Regions from separate parts of the Homo sapiens genome. Here region 2 is linked to region 1. Evidence: promoter capture Hi-C in 16 types of primary human blood cells and fetal thymus (Javierre and others, 2016). All regions are on one chromosome and are shown on one strand. Each heading gives the region's core, a stretch centred on a gene start or on the middle of the fragment in contact. The rest is flanking DNA. Distances are from core to core; before and after follow the strand shown.

Region 1 (4,094 bases), core at 1,259-3,758:
GGTTTCACCATGTTGGCATACTGGTCTCAAACTCCTGACCTCGGTGATCCGTCTGTCTCAGCCTCCCAAAGTGCTGGGATACAGGCATGAGCCACCACACCTGGCAAGTCTGGTTCTTTTTGAATAGCCACTCTTTTCAAAACCCTTCCCCACCCCTGACAACCTTTTATTAAGAAGCCCCATCCTAGTGATTCCATGGTATCAATCAACCACTCCAATAAGAAGATCAGAGCCTGTCCAAAAACTGAAGTGATTCCATCAACTCCAAGTATCCATGTAAAGAAAATCTAAAGGCTTTTGTGGAAAATGTCAAAAGATAAGGCACAGTCACTTAGCTCCCCAACCCAGTCTGAACGAATTCCTCATGCCCAGCCACCAGGTGGAGCACAACCCTCCACCTCAACGCAGAAGGTCCAGCCTCACCTAGAACTCCTGAGGCAAATACAGCACAGTGCAATGCAAAGGGGATGGGATTTGGAAACCAAGCGAGGACTGAAGCCTCAGCTCTGACAGTCACTAATTACAGGACACTGTATAGTTTTCTTGACCTCTCTGGGTCTCAGTTTCCTCTGTGGTATCTACCTGCCTTCCTGACCTCTTTTACTGCCCTTCCATTAGTACTACAGAAGTTTCCAACAATCCTGGACCCATCCCAGAGCCTCTGTGCTTGTTACTGGCCCTGCTGGGGGAACTCCTTTTCAATCTTCACAAGATTGGCTTTTTGTCATTTAGAGTTTATATGGAACATAAACTCCAGGAGGGAGGTTGAGCTTGATCAAGCACCTAGGGCTGTGCCTTGGTACATAGCGGGGGATGCAATAAATACATGTTGGCCGGACGCAATGGCTCAGGCCTGTAATCCCAGCACTTTGGGAGGCAGAGGCGGGCGGATCACCTGAGGTCAGGTGTTCGAGACCAGCCTGGCCAACATGGAGAAACCCCGTCTCTACTAAAAATACAAAATTAGCCGGGCACGGTGGCACATCCCTGTAATCTCAACTACTTGGGAGGCTGAGGCAGAAGAGTAGCTTGAACCCAGGAGGCGGAGGTTGCGGTGAGCCAAGATCAGGCCATTGTACTTGGCTACTCAGGAGGCTGAGGCAGGAGAATGGCTTGAACCCGGGAGGCGGAAGTTGCGGTGAGCCGAGATCGCGCCATTGCGTTCCAGCCTGGGCAACAAGAGCGAACTCCGTCTCAAAACAAAACAAAACAAAAACCATGTTGAACTGAATGACTAAAGGGATGATAACACCTGCTTCACAACTGCAGTAATATTTATTTATTTTGGTTTTGTTTTTGAGATGGGGAGAGGGGAAAGGGGGGACCTCAAAGGGGTCTTGCTATATTGCTGAGGCTGGTCTGGAACTTAGACTCCTGAATAGCTGGCACTAAAGGCGTGCACGGCCAGTATATTTAAGTGACACAATATAGTGAATGGTAAATGCTACTATATTAGCTGTTGTTAATCATAATTATAACGTTTGCCATCTCTAGCGATCATACTTTAACCTTTCTCCATAACTTCAGTCTAAATATGTTGACATGTGGTCAAAAGTAATTCATGTTAGGTGAGAAATTAAGAGGAGTCATCCAGGCCTGAAACCAGCTCTGAGAACTGGATATACAGCCACCAAGTCACAAGCAAAACACCTCTCACCATCCCCAGCGCGGTAAAGGAGGGACCAAGGATGTCTATTGGTCGTCTGCTAGTTTGCTTTCATTAAGAGTCAGATGCTGGGGCCACGGTGTAGGTGTCACTGGAGCTGCGGGGGGGGCAAGATGACCCCGAAGTCACGACAGAAACAGTGAGTTTCTGCTGCTGACAAGTGCAGCCCTCTCAAGACAAAGAGCGAGTGCCATGTTTCCCAGATACAAATTCCTCCGGGGCAAGACCCACAAGGAGACCTGGTTGCTGGCGCCACCCAACAGCTCCTTCTGGGCTGCCCCTGGTTCTGTTCCCGCCCAGGGCTCCCCCTTTATCTCATCCTTCCAGCCCCTCCTCACTCACCTCCTTGCACAGCGCGGCTCAGAGGGGGCAGCGGAGGGGGGTCCTCAACTCCCTCCCAGCTCTCCGCCACCACCCCCCAGCCCCCTCAACACCCATTTCCGGCGCCCCGGCGTCCTTTCTCCCGCTCCGCGTCCCTCCTCCAGCCCGGCGTTCCCGTTCCCAGGACGCTGGCTCCCTCCTCTCCCGCTCCCTTGACTTCCCCGGCTGGGGCTCCGGCCACCGCCCCTTCCGGCCCCCTCCGGCGCTAGACACTAGCCCCGCGACCTCTTCCTTACCCCCCGACCCCCGCCCGTACCGGGATCAGTTCCTTGAGCGAGCGCCGCACAGGCACGATTTCCAGCTCGCCCTCCTCCACCTCCATGGGCTCCGGCTCGCCACGGTCAACACCGGACTCCGCCTCAGGGGACGGGAGCCCCAGGGCCGGCCCCGCCGGGGCCTCCGCCTTCACCGACACCCGCAGGCCCCGTACGGCCGCCATCGCTGCCTGCCGGCCGCACCACTGAGAGCCCGCCCCTCACGGCCGCCGGCTAGAGCGCCGCTGCCACTGGCCACAGAGGAGCCGCCGCAGCTACCTAGAGCGTCGCCGGCTTCGGCCCAGAAGGCCGCCCTTAGCGCCGCCGCCCCCTGGTGGCGGGAGAAAACCGGGCCGGCTGCGCGGGCGGGACCTGGGGAGGAGAAGGCGGGACTGAGCGGGGACGGGGGCGGGGCCTGCGGGAACTACGGAGCTTGGAGGAGACCGGGGTAGTCAAGGGTTACAATGTAGCTACGCCTTGAGGCTAAAGCTGTACTAAAAGCCAACTTTCCTGAGTGATCACTATGGGCCAGACACTTCCAAGCGCTCGAACCCTTAGAACAACTCTATGAAGTAGATCCTATTTTGACCCCCATTTCATATATGAGGAAACTGAGGCATAGAAATTGACCCAAGGTGACGCCATTTAAGGGATAAAAGCTGGATCTAAGTCTTCCAGAGTTTACAATGAGCCTTGATATATCACCTCTGGACAATCTGTAGGTTTATAAAGTTACTTGCCTTGCCAGTCTTTGTCTCTTAAAAGTCTCCCCAAAATTGGCCCATGTTACATACACAAAAATTGAGACTCCAAGAGGGAGAGACCTGCCCAAAGGCCAGAACTTGGACGCCGATTTCCTGACTCCTGAGGGTGCCATCCACTGTAGACCTGTGAGCATAGTTTCCGGCGGATATTTCTAACGAGAGCCTGGTGGGGGAGAGGGGTTGTCTACGCGTCCCGAGGGTGTCACTGATCAGCTGCTGTTCTGAGTCCTGATTTTCTTTTTCTTTCTTTCTTTCTTTCTTTATTCCTTTCTTCCTTCCTTTCTTTCTTCTTTTCTTTCTTTCTCTTTTCCTTCCTTCCTCCCTCTCCTCTTTCTTTCTTTCTTTCTTTTTTTTTTTTTTTTTTGTAGAGACAGGGTTTCACCATGTTGACTAAGCTGGTCTCGAATTCCTAACCTCAAGCGATCCACCCGCCTCGGCCTCCCAAAGTCTTGGGATTACAGGCATGAGCCACCGCGCCCGGCCTGAGTCCTGATTTTGCATCTTCCTCCCTGGGTAACCTTGGACAGGTTTTTGGGTCTGTTTTCCCATCTGAGGAGGGCATAGGTGAGACCCTACAGTCTCTGAGGCCCTGAGGCCCTACCAGCTCTGACCATGGAGGAGCAAATAATGATAAACCAAGGAAGAGCATGGTCAGCATCAGACACACCTGGGTTTCGAGCTGGCTGGCCGGGCCCCATCCACCATGTGTGACCTTAGGCAAGCTGCTTAGCACTTTGGAGTCTCAGTTCCTTCATCAGTAAAATGGACCATTACCTACCTACAAAGGAGGTTGTGAGGGTTAAATGTGATAATTTATATGTAGATACAGGGTCCAACAGAAGGGGTGCAGTACATCACAGTTTTTCTTAAATTTGGGCTAAACCACAGGATAAACACAAGACAGAGCTCTTTAGAGGACTAGTTTTATTTGATGAATGGGACACAAAGTACTTTTAAAAATTGGGTTGAGGCCGGGCACGGTGGCTCATGCCTGTAATCCCAACACTTTGGGAGGCCAAGGCGGGCAGA
Region 2 (4,445 bases), core at 1,376-3,875, 120 kb before region 1:
TTTTTTTTTTTTGAGACAAGGTCTCACTCTGTTACTCGGGCCGGAATGGAGTGGCTCAATCATAGCTCACTGAAGCTTCAAATTCCTGGGCTCAAACGATACTCCTGCCTCAGCCTCCCAAGTAGCTGGGACTACAGGCATGAGCCACCATGCGTGGCTAATTTATGTATTTATTTATTTTTAAGAAATGGGGTTTCACTATGCTGCCCAGGCTGATCTTGAACTCCTGGCCTCAAGCAATCCTCCCGCCTCAGCCTCCCAAAGTGTTGGGATGACAGATGTGAGCCACCACACTCACAATTCTTTTTTTTTAAATTATTTCTTGTATCTGTCCCTTTCTTTTCCACCCCCATTGCTACTTCTTCAGTTGAGACCTCACAAATGTCACCTGGATCACTGTAAAACATTAAACTTGATCACTTGATCACTAGTTCCCACTTTAGAATAAGTGATCAGGGAAGGCCTCTCTAAGAAAATAACACGTGTGGCCGGGTGTGGTGGCTCATGCCTGTAATCCCAGCACTTCGGGAGGCTGAGGTGGGTAGATCATCTGAGGTCAGGAGTTCAAGACCAGCCTGACCAACACGATGAAACCCCATCTCTACTAAAAATACAAAATTAGCCGGGCGTGGTGGCTCACGCCTGTAATCCCAGCACTTTGGGAGGCCAAGGAGGGCGGATCACCTGAGGTCAGGAGTTCAAGACCAGCCTCACCAACATGGAGAAACCCCATCTCTACTAAAAATACAAAATTAGCCGGGTATGGTGGCGCATACCTGTAATCCCAGCTACTTGGGAGGCTGAGGCAGGAGAATCGCTTGAACCCGGGAGGCGGAGGTTGCAGTGAGCCGAGATCGTGCCATTGCACAACAAGAGCGAAACTCCGTCTTGAAAGAAAGAAAAGAAAAGAAAAGAACACCTAGGTCGGGTGCGGTGGCTCACGCCTGTAATCCCAGCACTTTGGGAGGCTGAGGCGGGCGATCACCTGAGGTCAGGAGTTCGAGACCAGCCTGGCCAACATGGTGAAACCCCCTCTCTACTAAAAATACAAAAATTAGCTGGGCGTGGTCGCCGGCGCCTGTAATCCCAGCTACTCGGGAGGCTGAGGCAGGAGAATCACTTGAACCCGGGAGGCGGAGGTTGCAGTGAGTAGAGATCGTGCCACTGCACTCCAGCCCGGGTGACAGAGCAAGACTCCATCTAAAAAAAAAAAAAAAAAAAAGAAAAGAACACCTGAGCTAAATTTAAGAAGAAACCACCTACGTCAGGACCTAGAGGAAGAGCAGTGTCAAGCAAAGGAACAGCAAGTACAAAGTCTTGTGGCCAGAATAATGCTGTACTGGCGAGCTAGAAGAATAGGACAGAATAACCCGATTATAAAAGGGGCAGTGGGAGAGAAAGGCGAGTACTAGGAGATGAAGTTGAAGAATTAAGCAGAGACCAGATCAAGTACTGCCTTGCTCTGGCCATGAAAAAAGTATGGATTTTAGTCTAAGTGTGCTCAAGCATCAGTTTTGTTTGTTTGTTATTTTTAATAAGCAGGGGAATGGCACAATCTAATGTCTGCTCTTAGAAGACGGATAGCTGTTACGTGGGAATTATTTGTAAAGAATGTGGGAAAAGCAGAGGCAAGAAAGGCAGGCCGAAGGTTATTGCAACAGCCCTGGCAAGAAAGGGTAGCTTGAATTACAACGGCAGTGGAAATGGAGAGAAGTGAATGGGTTTAGGATATATTTTGGCCCTGAAATGGCAGGGCTTGCTGCTGGAATAGACGTGGGGATGTAGGAAAGAGGAGTCACAGGTAATCCCTCGAGTTCCTTGTACTGTAACTGGAGTATATCTCCCTCCTGAGGGTAGCTAAGGAACGGGTTGGGACAGAGGGTTGGTTTTTTGCACCAAAAGATCTATTTTGGACATGGACATGTTATGCAAAGATGCTATTATCTCTTCTAGGGGCGATGCCCGTGAGCAACTGGATAATCAAATCTGGAGCATTTCAGTCTCAAACACCTCCTCAGAGTGATCCCAGGAGATCTCTGCAGCCACGGTGACATTTTCTTTATCTGAAGCGATGACACAGCTCACTGAATGCCATTCTTCCACATGCTGGAAAAGCGAGGTCTAGTGAACACAATTCCTTTCCGTGCGGAAAGTCTGAAATCTTTTTAACACTTCGGACACAGAGCATCGTAAGGTCCCAGAATAGAGGGTGTGAGCAATTTCAGCGCTCACCTCGGCCCAAGCGAAGCTCCAGCGGGAGCAATTGAGACCCAGGGACGAAGCTAGGGAGGGCCTGGCAGCCCCCGGCACTGGCCGGCAGGGGTAACCCAGGAAAAACAGTCTCCTGGCCTCTCGTTACCCGCTTCAGGCCCTCCGCCCTCCCCTGGCCTCTCGGGACGGCCGCGCTTACCTGAACCGAACTGTACGCACAAGCGCGCTCCTGACTCCAGGTGCACACCGTGGAGGCCTGAAACGAGAGCCATGACCGCGACGCGCTGAACAAACCAAGCCGCCAGTTTTCCGTCCCGTCCCGGCCCCGGCCCTGGCGAGGTGCGCATGCGCAGGGCCGGGAGCTAGGACCCCGCGGCAGGCGGGCGCGTCCGCGTCGCACGGAAGTCTCGCGATGTTTGCGTTTGAACCTCTTGGCGGGTGCCGGCCATGGCGGCTTCGCTCCCGGGACCTGGGAGCCGGCTTTTCCGCACATATGGGGCTGCGGACGGCAGGAGACAGCGGCGGCCGGGCCGGGAAGCCGCGCAGTGGTTCCCGCCGCAGGACCGGAGGCGTTTCTTCAACAGCAGCGGCAGCAGCGACGCCAGCATCGGCGACCCCTCGCAGTCCGACGATCCTGACGATCCCGACGACCCCGACTTCCCCGGCAGCCCGGTGAGGCGGCGGCGGAGGCGTCCCGGCGGCCGAGTGCCCAAGGACCGGCCCAGCCTGACCGTGACCCCAAAGCGCTGGAAGCTGCGAGCTCGCCCAAGCCTAACCGTGACCCCAAGACGCCTGGGGCTGCGAGCTCGGCCCCCGCAGAAGTGCAGCACACCCTGCGGCCCGCTCCGACTTCCGCCCTTCCCCAGCCGCGACTCCGGCCGCCTCAGCCCGGACCTCAGCGTGTGCGGCCAGCCCAGGGACGGCGACGAGCTGGGCATCAGTGCCTCCCTGTTCAGCTCTCTGGCCTCGCCCTGCCCCGGGTCCCCAACGCCAAGGGACAGTGTCATCTCGATCGGCACCTCCGCCTGTCTGGTTGCAGCCTCAGCCGTCCCGAGCGGCCTCCACCTCCCAGAAGTCTCCCTGGACCGAGCATCTCTCCCCTGCTCCCAGGAGGAAGCGACAGGAGGAGCCAAGGACACCAGGATGGTCCACCAAACCCGCGCCAGCCTCAGGTCAGTTCTCTTTGGCCTTATGAACTCAGGAACCCCTGAGGATTCTGAGTTTCGGGCAGATGGGAAGAATATGAGAGAGTCCTGCTGTAAAAGGAAACTGGTGGTGGGAAATGGACCAGAGGGTCCAGGTCTGTCAAGCACAGGCAAGAGGAGGGCCACAGGCCAGGACTCTTGTCAAGAGAGAGGGCTTCAAGAGGCCGTCCGGAGAGAGCATCAGGAGGCCAGTGTTCCCAAGGGCCGCATTGTGCCAAGGGGAATAGACAGGCTGGAGAGAACTAGATCAAGCCGGAAGAGCAAACATCAGGAGGCAACGGAAACCTCTCTCCTCCATTCCCACCGCTTTAAAAAGGGCCAAAAGCTGGGAAAAGATTCGTTCCCCACCCAGGACCTGACTCCTTTACAGAATGTCTGCTTTTGGACCAAAACCAGGGCTTCCTTCAGTTTCCACAAGAAGAAAATTGTGACTGATGTGTCAGAGGTCTGCAGCATCTATACCACTGCCACTTCTCTCTCTGGATCCCTCCTATCAGAATGTTCAAACCGGCCTGTCATGAACAGAACAAGTGGTGCTCCGTCCTCTTGGCACTCCTCCTCTATGTATTTGCTAAGCCCCTTAAACACTCTAAGTATTTCAAACAAAAAGGCATCTGATGCTGAAAAGGTTTATGGGGAATGCAGTCAGAAGGGTCCTGTCCCCTTTAGCCATTGCCTTCCCACAGAAAAACTGCAACGCTGTGAGAAGATTGGGGAAGGGGTGTTTGGCGAAGTGTTTCAAACAATTGCTGATCACACACCCGTAGCCATAAAAATCATTGCTATTGAAGGACCAGATTTAGTCAATGGATCCCATCAGAAAACCTTTGAGGAAATCCTGCCAGAGATCATCATCTCCAAAGAGTTGAGCCTCTTATCCGGTGAAGTGTGCAACCGCACAGAAGGCTTTATCGGGCTGAACTCAGTGCACTGTGTCCAGGGATCTTACCCTCCCTTGCTCCTCAAAGCCTGGGATCACTATAATTCAACCAAAGGCTCTGCAAATGACCGGCCTGATTTTTTTAAAGA

Evidence for each region. The method cuts DNA at HindIII sites, captures the fragments that hold promoters and counts their contacts. A CHiCAGO score of 5 or more calls a contact.
Region 2: the fragment with the promoter of HASPIN here is called in contact with the fragment with the promoter of NCBP3 in region 1 in 1 of 17 cell types (M2 macrophages); the score reaches 6.6 in M2 macrophages.

Annotation. Positions count from the first base shown.
Region 1 is chr17:3,843,738-3,847,831 of GRCh38, forward strand. It overlaps NCBP3 (nuclear cap binding subunit 3), which reads right to left and starts at 2,509. Exons shown (of 13, transcript NM_001114118.3): 1 at 2,304-2,509. The coding sequence starts at 2,486. RefSeq lists silencers at 2,208-2,497, 2,678-2,797. The HindIII fragment of the contact is 12,990 bases long and covers 1-4,094 here.
Region 2 is chr17:3,721,278-3,725,722 of GRCh38, forward strand. HASPIN (histone H3 associated protein kinase) reads left to right here and starts at 2,626. Exons shown (of 1, transcript NM_031965.2): 1 at 2,626-4,445. The coding sequence starts at 2,659. It overlaps ITGAE (integrin subunit alpha E), which reads right to left. Exons shown (of 31, transcript NM_002208.5): 27 at 2,411-2,467; 28 at 2,011-2,106. It also overlaps a transcript of P2RX5 not described here. RefSeq lists a silencer at 2,527-2,686 and an enhancer at 2,556-3,311. The HindIII fragment of the contact is 18,899 bases long and covers 74-4,445 here.